Linked DNA regions of Homo sapiens: regions 2 and 3 are each linked to region 1. The links are contacts of gene promoters, found by promoter capture Hi-C in human tissues and cell types (Jung and others, 2019). All regions are on one chromosome and are shown on one strand. The core of a region is centred on a gene start or on the middle of the fragment in contact, and the rest is flanking DNA. Distances in the headings are between cores, read along the strand shown.

Region 1 (3,362 bases), core at 62-2,561:
TATCCCTAGGCTGGGTGCAGTGGCTCACACCTCTAATCCCAGCACTTTGAGAGGCCAAAACAGGCAGATTACTTGAGGCCAGGAGTTCGAGACCAGCCTGGCCAACATGGCGAAACCCCATCTCTACTAAAAATACAAAAATTAGCTGGCGCGGTGGCATGTACCTGTAATCCCAGCTACTCGGAAGCCTGAGGCAGGAGAATCGCTTGAACCCGGGAAGCAGAGGTTGCAGTGAGCCGAGATCGTGCCACTGCGCTCCAGCCTGGGCAACAGAGCAAGGCTCCATCTCAAAAAGAAAAAGTCTCGGCCAGGTGCGGTGGCTCACGCCTGTAATCCCAGCACTTTGGGAAGCCGAGGAGGGCAGATCATGAGGTCAGGAGATCGAGACCATCCTGGCTAACACGGTGAAACCCCGTCTCTACTAAAAATACAAAAAATTAGCCGGGCATGTGGCGGACACCTGTAGTCCCAGCTACTCAGGAGGCTGAGGCAGGAGAATGGTGTGAACCTGGGAGGCAGAGCTTGCAGTAACTGAGATCACGCCACTGCACTCCAGCCTAGTGACAGAGCGAGACTCCGTCTCAAAAAAAAAAAAGTCTCCCTAGACATTGCAATGTCCCCTAGGGGGCAGAATTCCCCTTACTCGAGAACCCCCTAGTCTAATGCATTTAGCTTATTTCAACCTCAGGGCCTTTGCACGTCCTGTACTTTAGTGCTCTATGCTGCATCTGTTCATGTTGTTCACATTTTAGCTTCAATGCTACCTCCTCCTGAGAGGCTGTCTCTGACCATCCCATTGCGTAGTGACCCCTTAAGTCACTCCCAATGCCATCGCCTTATTTTAATTTTCTGCATGGTACTCACCAACAGCTGATATGTTTCTACATGTTATTGTTTGTCTGTCCCACGAGAAAGTGAATTCCATGAGCCCAAGGATCTTGTCTGGTAAGGCTGGCGTGCCTGGCACATAGTAGGTGCTCAGTAAATTATCATCACAACAGCTTCCTCCACAACTGTTTCTCTTTCTGGACTTCTGTTTGTTGCTGAAGAAGACAGCTGAGCAGGACTGGGCTTCCCCAGTAAGGACAGAGGCCCTTTGCAGTGTCAGCGTTCTGGCTGTCCTGGGGGCTCCAGCCTCTCTTTAGCCTTTGCTGGTAGTTGAACGACCAATTTAGACTCCTCTGGGGAAATAGGTTAGAGAGGACAGTTTCCTGGCCTCGGCGCCACCCGGAAGACAAGCCCCTGGCTATCCTAGTAACTTTCGTCTTAGGTATTTTATGGGTCTCTCCTTGCCCAATTCTCCCAGCAACTGGGATAATGAAAGCGATTGTTTGCACTAGGGCACCAGCTTAGCCGGGCATTCAGCCCAGACTTAGTGGTTAACTATTGTGTGCCAGGCTGATACGGCTCCTCGTAAAAGATGCCATTTGCTGACAGTCTAGGAGGTGCAGTTGGTTGGCATTTGGCATTAGCAGTCCACATTATTACCCCAAGAGACAGACATTATGATCCTGTTTCACAGATGAAGAAAACAAGATGCAGAAAGGTGAAGTCCCTTGCCTGTGACGCTTCACTACTCTGCACTTGAATTTTCTCACTAACTTCCTGTGTTGGTGAGACAATGAAAAGCATTTATATAGAGAGTGAGACTAACACTACACCTACATCACAGGAAGGGCCCGTGAGATGTTAGCCATGATTAATTACCATTAAAACTCCAAGACCGGGCACGGTGGCTCATGCCTGTAATCCCAGCACTTTGGGAGGCCGAGGCAGGCGGATCACCTGAGGTCAGGCATTCAAGACCAGACTGGCCAATATGGTGAGACCCCTATCTCTACTAAAAATAGAAAAATTAGCTGGGCGTGGTGACGCATGCCTGTAATCCCAGCTACTTGGGAGGCTGAGGCACAAGAATTGTTTGAACCTGGGAGTTGGAGGTTGCAATGAGCCGAGATCCTGCCACTGCACTGCAGCCTGGGCGACAGAGCAAGACTTTGTCTCAAAAACTCACAAATCACCCGGGCATGGTGGCTCACGCTAGTAATCCCAGCACTTTGGGAGGCCAAGGCAGGCAGATCACGAGGTCAGGAGATCAAGACCATCCTGGCTAACACGGTGAAACCCCGTCTCTACAAAAAAAACAAAACAAAACAAAACAAAAAATTAGCTGGGCGTGGTGGTTTGCACCTGTAGTCCCAGCTACTCAGGAAGCTGAGGCAGGAGAATGGCATGAACCCGGGAGGTGGAGCTTGCAGTGAGCCGAGATCGCACCACTGCACTCCAGCCTGGGTGACAGAGCGAGACTTTGTCTCAAAAACTCACAAGTCACCCAGGCATGGTGGCTCACGCCAGTAATCCCAGCACTTTGGGAGGCCAAGGCAGGCAGATCACGAGGTCAGGAGATCAAGACCATCCTGGCTAACATGGTGAAACCCTGTCTCTACATAAAAAACAAAAAACAAAAAACAAAAAATTAGCTGGGCGTGGTGGTTTGCACCTGTAGTCCCAGCTACTCAGGAAGCTGAGGCAGGAGAATGGCATGAACCTGGGAGGTGGAGCTTGCAGTGAGCCGAGATTGCGCCACTGCACTCCAGCCTGGGCGACAGAGCAAGCCTCCATCTCAAAGAAAAAGTAATAATAATAGTGTTACTATATTTTCAGGGATAGAAGTTTCAGATACTTGGTCAGGCGCGGTGGCTCATGCCTGTAATCCCAGCACTTTGGGAGGCCGAGGTGGGCAAATCACCTGAGGTCAGGAATTTGAGACCAGCTTGGCCAATATGGTGAGACCCCATCTCTACTAAAAACAAAAATTAGCCAGGCATGGTGGCAGGTGCCTGTAATCCCAGCTACTTGGGAGGCTGAGGCAGGAGGATCACTTAAACCTGGGAGGCAGAGGTTGCAGTGAGCAGAGATTACGCCATTGCACTCCAGCCTGGACGACAGAGCCACACTACACTCCATCTCACAAAAAAAAAAAAAAAAGAAGTTTCAGGTGCTGCCAGGCACAGTGGCATGCTCCTGTAGTCCCAGCTACTGGGGAAGCCAAGGTGGGAGGATCACTCAAGGCCAGGAGTTCAAGACCAGCCTGGGCAACATAGTGAGACCCTCATCTCTACAACAACAACAATAACAAAAAATTAGCTGGGCGTGGTGGTGTGTGCCTGTAGTCCCAACTACTCGGGAGGTTGAGGTGGGAGGATTACTTGAGCCCAGAAAGTCAAGGCTGCAGTGAGATATGATTGCCTCACTGCACTCTAGCCTGGGCAACAGAGCAAAACCCTGTCTCTTTAAAACAAAAAAAGAAAAAGAAAAGAAAAGAAGTTTTAGGGGCTGAAATTTTAGGAAACATACTGTCT
Region 2 (3,362 bases), core at 454-2,953, 450 kb before region 1:
TCTTTGGAGATGTAATTAGTTAAGATGAGGTCATTAGCGTGGGACCTAGTTCCATATGGATGGTGTCCTTCTAAAAACAGAAGACAGGGTCAGGTGTAATGGCTCACACCTATGGTCCCAGCACTTTGGGAGGTCAAGGTGAGAGGACTGCTTGAGCCCAGGAGTTCAAGACTAGCCTGGGCAATACAGGGAGATTCCATCTCTACAAAAAAAAATTTTTAAGCAGCCTGGCCAACATGGTGAAAAAACCCCATCTCTACTAAAAATACAAAAATTAGCTGGGCATGGTGGCAAGGCACCTGTGATCCCAGCTACTCGGGAGGCTGAGACACGAGAATCGCTTGATCCTGGGAGGTGGGGGTTACAGTGAGCTGAGATGACGCCAATTAACTTGAGCCAAGATGGCGCCACTACCCTCCAGCCTGGGCAACAGAGCAAGAAGAGCCTGTCTCAAAAAAAAAAAAAAAAAAAAAAAAAAAAAGGAGGAGACAGGATTGAGATGAATGATGCAGACACAGAGGGAAGAAGTCCATGTGAAGAGGAAGAGGGAGGCAGGGACTGGAGTGATGTGGCCAAAAGCCAAGGAAAGCTTGGACCCCTAGAAGCTGGAGGAGGCAAGAAAGGGTCCTCCCTTGGAGCCTCTGGAGGCAGCACAGCTCTGCTGACAGTTTGACTTTAGACTTCCAGCTTCCAGAACCATAAGAGAATAGATTACTGTGGTTTTAAGAACTCCACCTCCCGGGTTCAAACAATTCTCCTGCCTCAGCCTCCCAAGTAGCTGGAATTATAGGCACCCGCCACCATGCCTGGCTAATTTTTGCATTTTTAGTAGAGATGGGGTTTTGCCATGTTGGCCAGGCTGGTTAAAAATTTTTTTGTAGAGATGGAATCTTTTTTTTTTTTTTTTTTTTTGAGACAGAGTCTTGGTCTGTCACCCAGGCTGGAGTGCAATGGAGTGATCTCCGCTCACTGCAACCTCCGCCTCCCAGGTTCAAGCAATTTTCCTGCCTCAGCCTCCTGAGTAGCTGGGATTACAGGCGCCTGTCACCATGCCCGGCTAATTTTTGTATTTTCAGTAGAGACGGGGCTTCACCATGTTGGCCAGGCTGGTCTCCAACTCCTGACCTCAGGTGATCCGCCTGCCTCGGCCTCCCAAAGTGCTGGGATTACAGGCGTGAGCCACTGTGCCTGGCCGAGGTGGAATCTTTCTGTGTTGCCCAGGCTGGTCTTGATCTCCTGGGCTCAAGAGCCCACCTGGCTTGTAGCGGTTCCTTAGAGGAGCCACAGGAAAGTAGTTCGGTATGTGTCACGTGATTTCAGTGACTACAACTGGGTGACCCAGAATGAGGTGCCTTATTGACCTGTCTGCCTTCACAGCGCCCTGTGGACTGTGGGGATGAGGGAGGAAGGCTCAGAAGTGAGACCAGAGCCCAGCAGCATCTGGGTCCCAATTCCACACACTGCACTGCCCTTTGTAACAACTCGCCAATCCTGTCTCTTGCTCCATTGCCCAGGCTGGAGTGCAGTGACACGATCACAGCTCCCTGCAGCCTCAACCTCCCAGGCTCAAGTGATCCTCCTGTCTCAGCCTCCTGAGTAGCTGGGGCCACAGGTATGCCCCACCACGTCTGGCCCCAGTGTCTAGTTTCTAGGCATAGGCCCATAATCCTTTGCTGAAAACTCCTGGCGGATGTGCCTCAAGTGCACGAATTAATCACACGTGTTGATGTTTTCACAATGAGGTGTTTGTGCATTTTGCACACACGAGCTTGGGTTTTGTGGTCAAGTGAAATGAACAGACACAAGTTCTCAGCACAAGGTCTGGCGTGGTGGCACACGCCTGTAATCCCAGTACTCTCGGAGGCCAAGGCGGGAGGATCCCTTGAGCTAAGGAGTTCAAGACCAGCCTGGAAAACATGACGAAACCCTGTTGCTACAAAGAAATACAAAAATTAGCCGGGTATGGTGGTGTGACCCTGTAGTCCCAGCTACTCCAGAGGCTCACGTCAGGGGATCACTTGAGCCCAGGAGGTCAAGGCTGCAGTGAGCTTTGATTGCACCACTACACTCCAGCCTGGGTGACAGAGTGAGACCCTGTCTCAAAAATAAAAAGGCGCTCTTGGGAAAGTCTGGATTTGGGGTAAGGCTCTGGGGGCTGCAGAACCTGACCCAGTGCCCATGCGTAGATGTGCCGGGATGGACGGGGTGTGGACACTCACTTGCTCTCCTCGTCCAGCAGGTAGAAGAGGCCCGTGGGTTTCTTGCTGATGAGATGGATGCAGCCGACATTGTCTGTGTAGCCGATGTTGTGCCACGTGATCCCCTCGCCCTGATATTCCTCCTGCAGGGGTGGCGCGGGGTCGGTAAGTTTCTTATCTCCCAGATATGTAATATCTACATAACATATATTGCATACAGGTCGAGTATCCCTAATCCGAAAATCTGAAATGCTTCAAAATAGGAAACTTTTTAAACTGATGCGTGGCTTAAAATTAACTCTAATAGGGCTGGGCACAGTGGCTCACGCCTGTAATCCCAGCACTTTGGGAGGCCAAGGCAGGTGGATCACCTGAGGTCAGGAGTTTGAGACCAGCCTGACCAACATAGCAAAATCCCATCTCTACTAAAGATACAAAATTAGCCAGGCGTGGTTGCACAAGCCTGTAATCCCAGCTACTCAGGAGGCTGAGGCAGGAAAATCGCTTGAACACGGGAAGTGGAGGTTGCAGTGAGCCAAGATTGCGCCATTAGTCCTACTCCAGCCTGGGCAACAAGAGCGAAACTCCGTCACAAAAAAAAAAAAAAAAAAATAGCTCTAATAATACACTTAATTTAACATGATATATCCAAAATGTGATCATGTTAACATGTAACTGACATAAAAAGTAACTGAGAGGCCAAGGTGGTAGGATCGCTTGAGGCCAGGAGTTCAAGACCAGCCTGGACAACATAGCAAGATCCTGTCTGTGCAAAAAATAAAAAGTAAAAAATACTTTACTGAGGCTGGAGGATGGCTTGAGTCCAGGAGTTTGAGACCAGCCCGGGCAATATAGCAAGACTCCATCTCAAAAAAAAAAAAAAAAATCCAAAACTTTTGGACTGCCAATGTTATGTGATGCTCAAAGACAACGCTCATTGAAGCATTTCAGATTTTGGATTTTCAGATTTGGGATGTTCAACCAGTAAGTATAATATAAATATTGAAAAATCTGAAAAAAATCCCAAACCTGAGACACTTCTGCTCCCAAGCAGTTTGGATAAGGGATCCCCACACTGTAGGAACATATTTATGTATCAATAGGCATGTTTACATATAAATGTATCTGCATGTGTGTGTTCTTTGCAGCACTATTCACAATAAC
Region 3 (3,362 bases), core at 305-2,804, 360 kb before region 1:
AAACTCCTGACCTTAGGTGATCCTCCCACCTCGGCCTCCCAAAGTGCTGGGATTACAGGCGTAAGCCACTGCACCAGGCCTCTCACCTCTCTTTAGTCACCCCTGAATGTATGAGTGTGAGATCTGGAAAACAGGGAGCGTCCAAAATTGATGTGGCCAACCAACCTGCTCACCCTTAAAGTGTTTATTTAAAGGAGTGAGAAGAGACAAAATGGACCTATTCTCTATTGACACGATCATTTCCCTCCAGGTTCCTATATTATCTAAAAATGTAAGTTGAGGCCGGGCACGGTGGCTCACATCTGTTATCCCAGCACTTTGGGAGTCCGAGCGGGCTGATCACCTGATGTCAGGAGTTTAAGACCAGCCTGGTCAACACAATGAAAGCCCATCTCTACTAAAAATACAAAAAGTAGCTGGGCGTGGTGGCGCACGCCTGTAGTCCCAGCTACTCGGGAGGCTGAGGCAGGAGAATCACTTGAACCTGGGAGACAGAGGTTGCAGTGAGCTGAGATCGCGTCACTGCACCCCAGCCTGGGTGACAGAGTGAGACTCTGCCCCCGCCCCCAAAATAAATAAACAAATAAATAAAAATGTAATTTGAATTTGTCCTTTTCTCAGTATTATGGGCTGAGCTGTGTCCACCACTCCCCTCCACAAAGAAATATTCACATATTGAAATCCTAAACCTCAGAACTTCAGAGTATGAGTATATTTGGGATTTTTTTTTTTTTTAAGAGATGGGGGTGTCGTTCTGTCACCCAGGCTGGAATGCAGTGCCATGATCATAGCTCACTGTAGCCTCAAACTCCCAGGCTCAAGCGATCTGTCTGTCTCAGCTTCTTAAAGTGCTGGGACCACAGGCATTCACCATCATGTCTAGCTAATTTTAGTATTTTTTTGTAGAGATGGGATCTTGCTATGTTGTCCAGGCTGGTCTTAAACTCCTGGCCTCAAGTGATCCTCCTGCCTCAGCCTCCCAAAGGGCTGAGATTACAGGCGTGTGCCACCAAGCCTCGCCTAGAGACAGGGTCTTTATGGGGATGATTCAGTTAAAATGATGTCATTAGGGTGGGCCCCCTTCCATATGACTGCTGTCCTCATAAGAGGAAATTTGGACACAGAGACAGGCACAGAGGGAGGACGATGTGAAGACCCAGGGGAAGACGGCTATGTATGAGCCAACAGAGAGAGGCGTGGAACAGATTCTCACAGCCCTCCGAAGGCACGAACCCTGCCAACACCTTGATCTTGAATGTGATCTTAAACGTCTGGCCTCTAGAACTGCAAGCCAATATACTTCTGTCGTTCTGGCCACCCAGCGTGCGGTTCTGTTACAGCAGCCCTAGCAAACTCAGGCACCCAGCAACAACAGTCATGAAACACCCCTAGCGGGGCTCCTTCTCTTGCACATACAGCCCTGTGCAGCAGGGCAGAGATGGGTTTTAAACAAGTGAGTCAGACAAGGATATCTTATTCATCACTCCGACGAACCCATGGGCTGAACCCTTGAATCACTACTTTATTTATCATCGGGCTCGGGCTCAGAAAGTCTCGCTGAGGAAATGAGTAGAACCCAAACTCGTCAGCTGCATTTCTGAAACATGCCTAATCTCTGAGGCTCTTTCCCAGCCACGATAGAAATTGAAAGGGAACGGGGCTCTGGGCTGCGGCGGTGGGCTGGTGTGGAGACAGAGCCCTTTGTTCTGCCACTCCAGGGACCACGAGGGCAGAAGAGAAGGGCTTGTCTTGCTTTGCCGAGAGGCCGCCTGGGGCCGTCTGAATGGCCGGCCGAGCAGGGGCAGCCTGGCACAGCTGGGCTGGGGATGCCGGGCACACAAAGGGCTGGTGGGTGGGGTGTGGGGGCAGCACCCAGAAGGGACCGTCAGTCCCGTGGCCCCAGAGCGTCTCCTCCAATCAAGGTAAAGCAGCAAAGTCACGGTCAAGGAGGGGGCCAAGCAGGGAAGGGGACAGCAAGATGGACCAAGAACAAAAATTCAGCAGTATGTGCTTGGGAACGGGCGGGCGAAAGGGCCCATGGAAGAGATAATGCAGCTTACAAAAGCGACGTTTATCCGGGGCAACCTCCAAAGTAGCTCTTGGGAGAGAATCTAATACCTCTAATCTCAGAAGAAAAGCAACAGATCATTCTAAGACGAGGACAGTTCCTCCAGAAATCCAGGTCAGTCACAAGACAAAGAAAAGACAAGGGCACCCGCTGTCCACCCTCGGGCACGTTGCCTACCCTCCCACAGTCCGTTCCTAACGGTTCCTCCTTTTTATCAAGACCCGCTCCCTCCTGATTAAGAACTGACTGGATGGCAGGATTCAGTTCCTGGTCTCTGCCCCTGTTCCCACTCTTAGTGGCAGTTCCTCAGGGGCTCCACAAACACCAAGGACCCACCAAGGCAATGATGGGCCCTAGAGGGGAACCAGGTTTTACTAATGAGCATCACATTTCACCTGGCGGGGGAGGTGATTCTGCCCCCAGGGGACACGTGGCCATGGCTGGAGTCATTTTCAGTTGTTACCCCTTGGAGGGGATGGAATACTACTGGCATCTCATGGGTGACAGCCAGGGACACTATTCCACATTCTACAGTGCACAGCCCCAACTGTCAATGGTGATGCGGGTGAGAAACGGCCCTGGAGATTTGGGTTTCCCCAGTTAAAGGTTACTAAGGATCCTGCATGTTTCTAGAAAGCTCAAGGAACCATCTCTGAAGTCATCACCTGCCTGGGCCTGTTTCTGTATCAGGAAGATAAGAACAAGGACCCTCGCACTGCCGGTTGGCAGAATGAGAGAGCTGGGATGCCCTGTACAGGCCGGGCTTCAAAGGTATCTGCTTGTGCAATCCCTTCCACCCGGAGTGGTTTAACACGTGGTATCTTTCCAGGTTTGACCTGGGGCCAGCCACTACTTCCGAGGAAACTTGCTGGAATCCCCCTTGTCCTAAAGCTTGCATTGGTTGTCCCTAATTCTCCCCCCATAATATCTTGTGGCCCCTCTGTCACCGTACTGATGACCTGATCTGAATTCCATTCTTTTTTTTAATTATTATTATTTTTGAGGGCATCTTGCTCTGTCACCCAGACTGGAGTGCAATGGCGCAATCTTGGCTGGCTGCAAACTCCGCCTCCTGGGTTCAAGCAATTCTCCTGTCTCAGCCTCCAGAGTAGCTGGGACTACAGGCGCACATCACCACGCCGGGCTAATTTTTGTATTTTTAGTGGAGACAGGGTTTCTCCATATTGGTCAGGCTGGTCTTGAACTCCTGACCTTGTGATCCACCCACCTTGGCCTCCCAAAGGGATTACAGGCCTGAGCCACCGCGGCCCAGCTTGAACTCCATTCTTTCTGA

Evidence for each region. The method cuts DNA at HindIII sites, captures the fragments that hold promoters and counts their contacts. A contact is called where the count stands out against the background at its distance.
Region 2: a contact is called between a fragment that was not itself captured here and the fragment with the promoter of NWD1 in region 1, in 7 of the 25 tissues and cell types used here (IMR-90 fibroblasts, bladder, dorsolateral prefrontal cortex and 4 more).
Region 3: a fragment that was not itself captured here is called in contact with the fragment with the promoter of NWD1 in region 1 in 1 of the 25 tissues and cell types used here (mesenchymal stem cells).

The regions. Positions count from the first base shown.
Region 1 is chr19:16,717,796-16,721,157 of GRCh38, reverse strand. NWD1 (NACHT and WD repeat domain containing 1) reads right to left here and starts at 1,311. Exons shown (of 19, transcript NM_001007525.5): 1 at 865-1,311. The HindIII fragment of the contact is 25,691 bases long and covers 1-3,362 here.
Region 2 is chr19:17,166,922-17,170,283 of GRCh38, reverse strand. It overlaps MYO9B (myosin IXB), which reads right to left. Exons shown (of 40, transcript NM_004145.4): 11 at 2,220-2,341. Among named protein-coding and RNA genes, the nearest start is that of USE1, 47 kb to the left of the region's middle. The HindIII fragment of the contact is 6,459 bases long and covers 1-3,362 here.
Region 3 is chr19:17,078,245-17,081,606 of GRCh38, reverse strand. The region is part of intron 1 of MYO9B (myosin IXB); the gene reads right to left. Among named protein-coding and RNA genes, the nearest start is that of MYO9B, 4.1 kb to the right of the region's middle. RefSeq lists an enhancer at 1,311-1,848 and a silencer at 1,861-1,960. The HindIII fragment of the contact is 3,543 bases long and covers 1-3,325 here.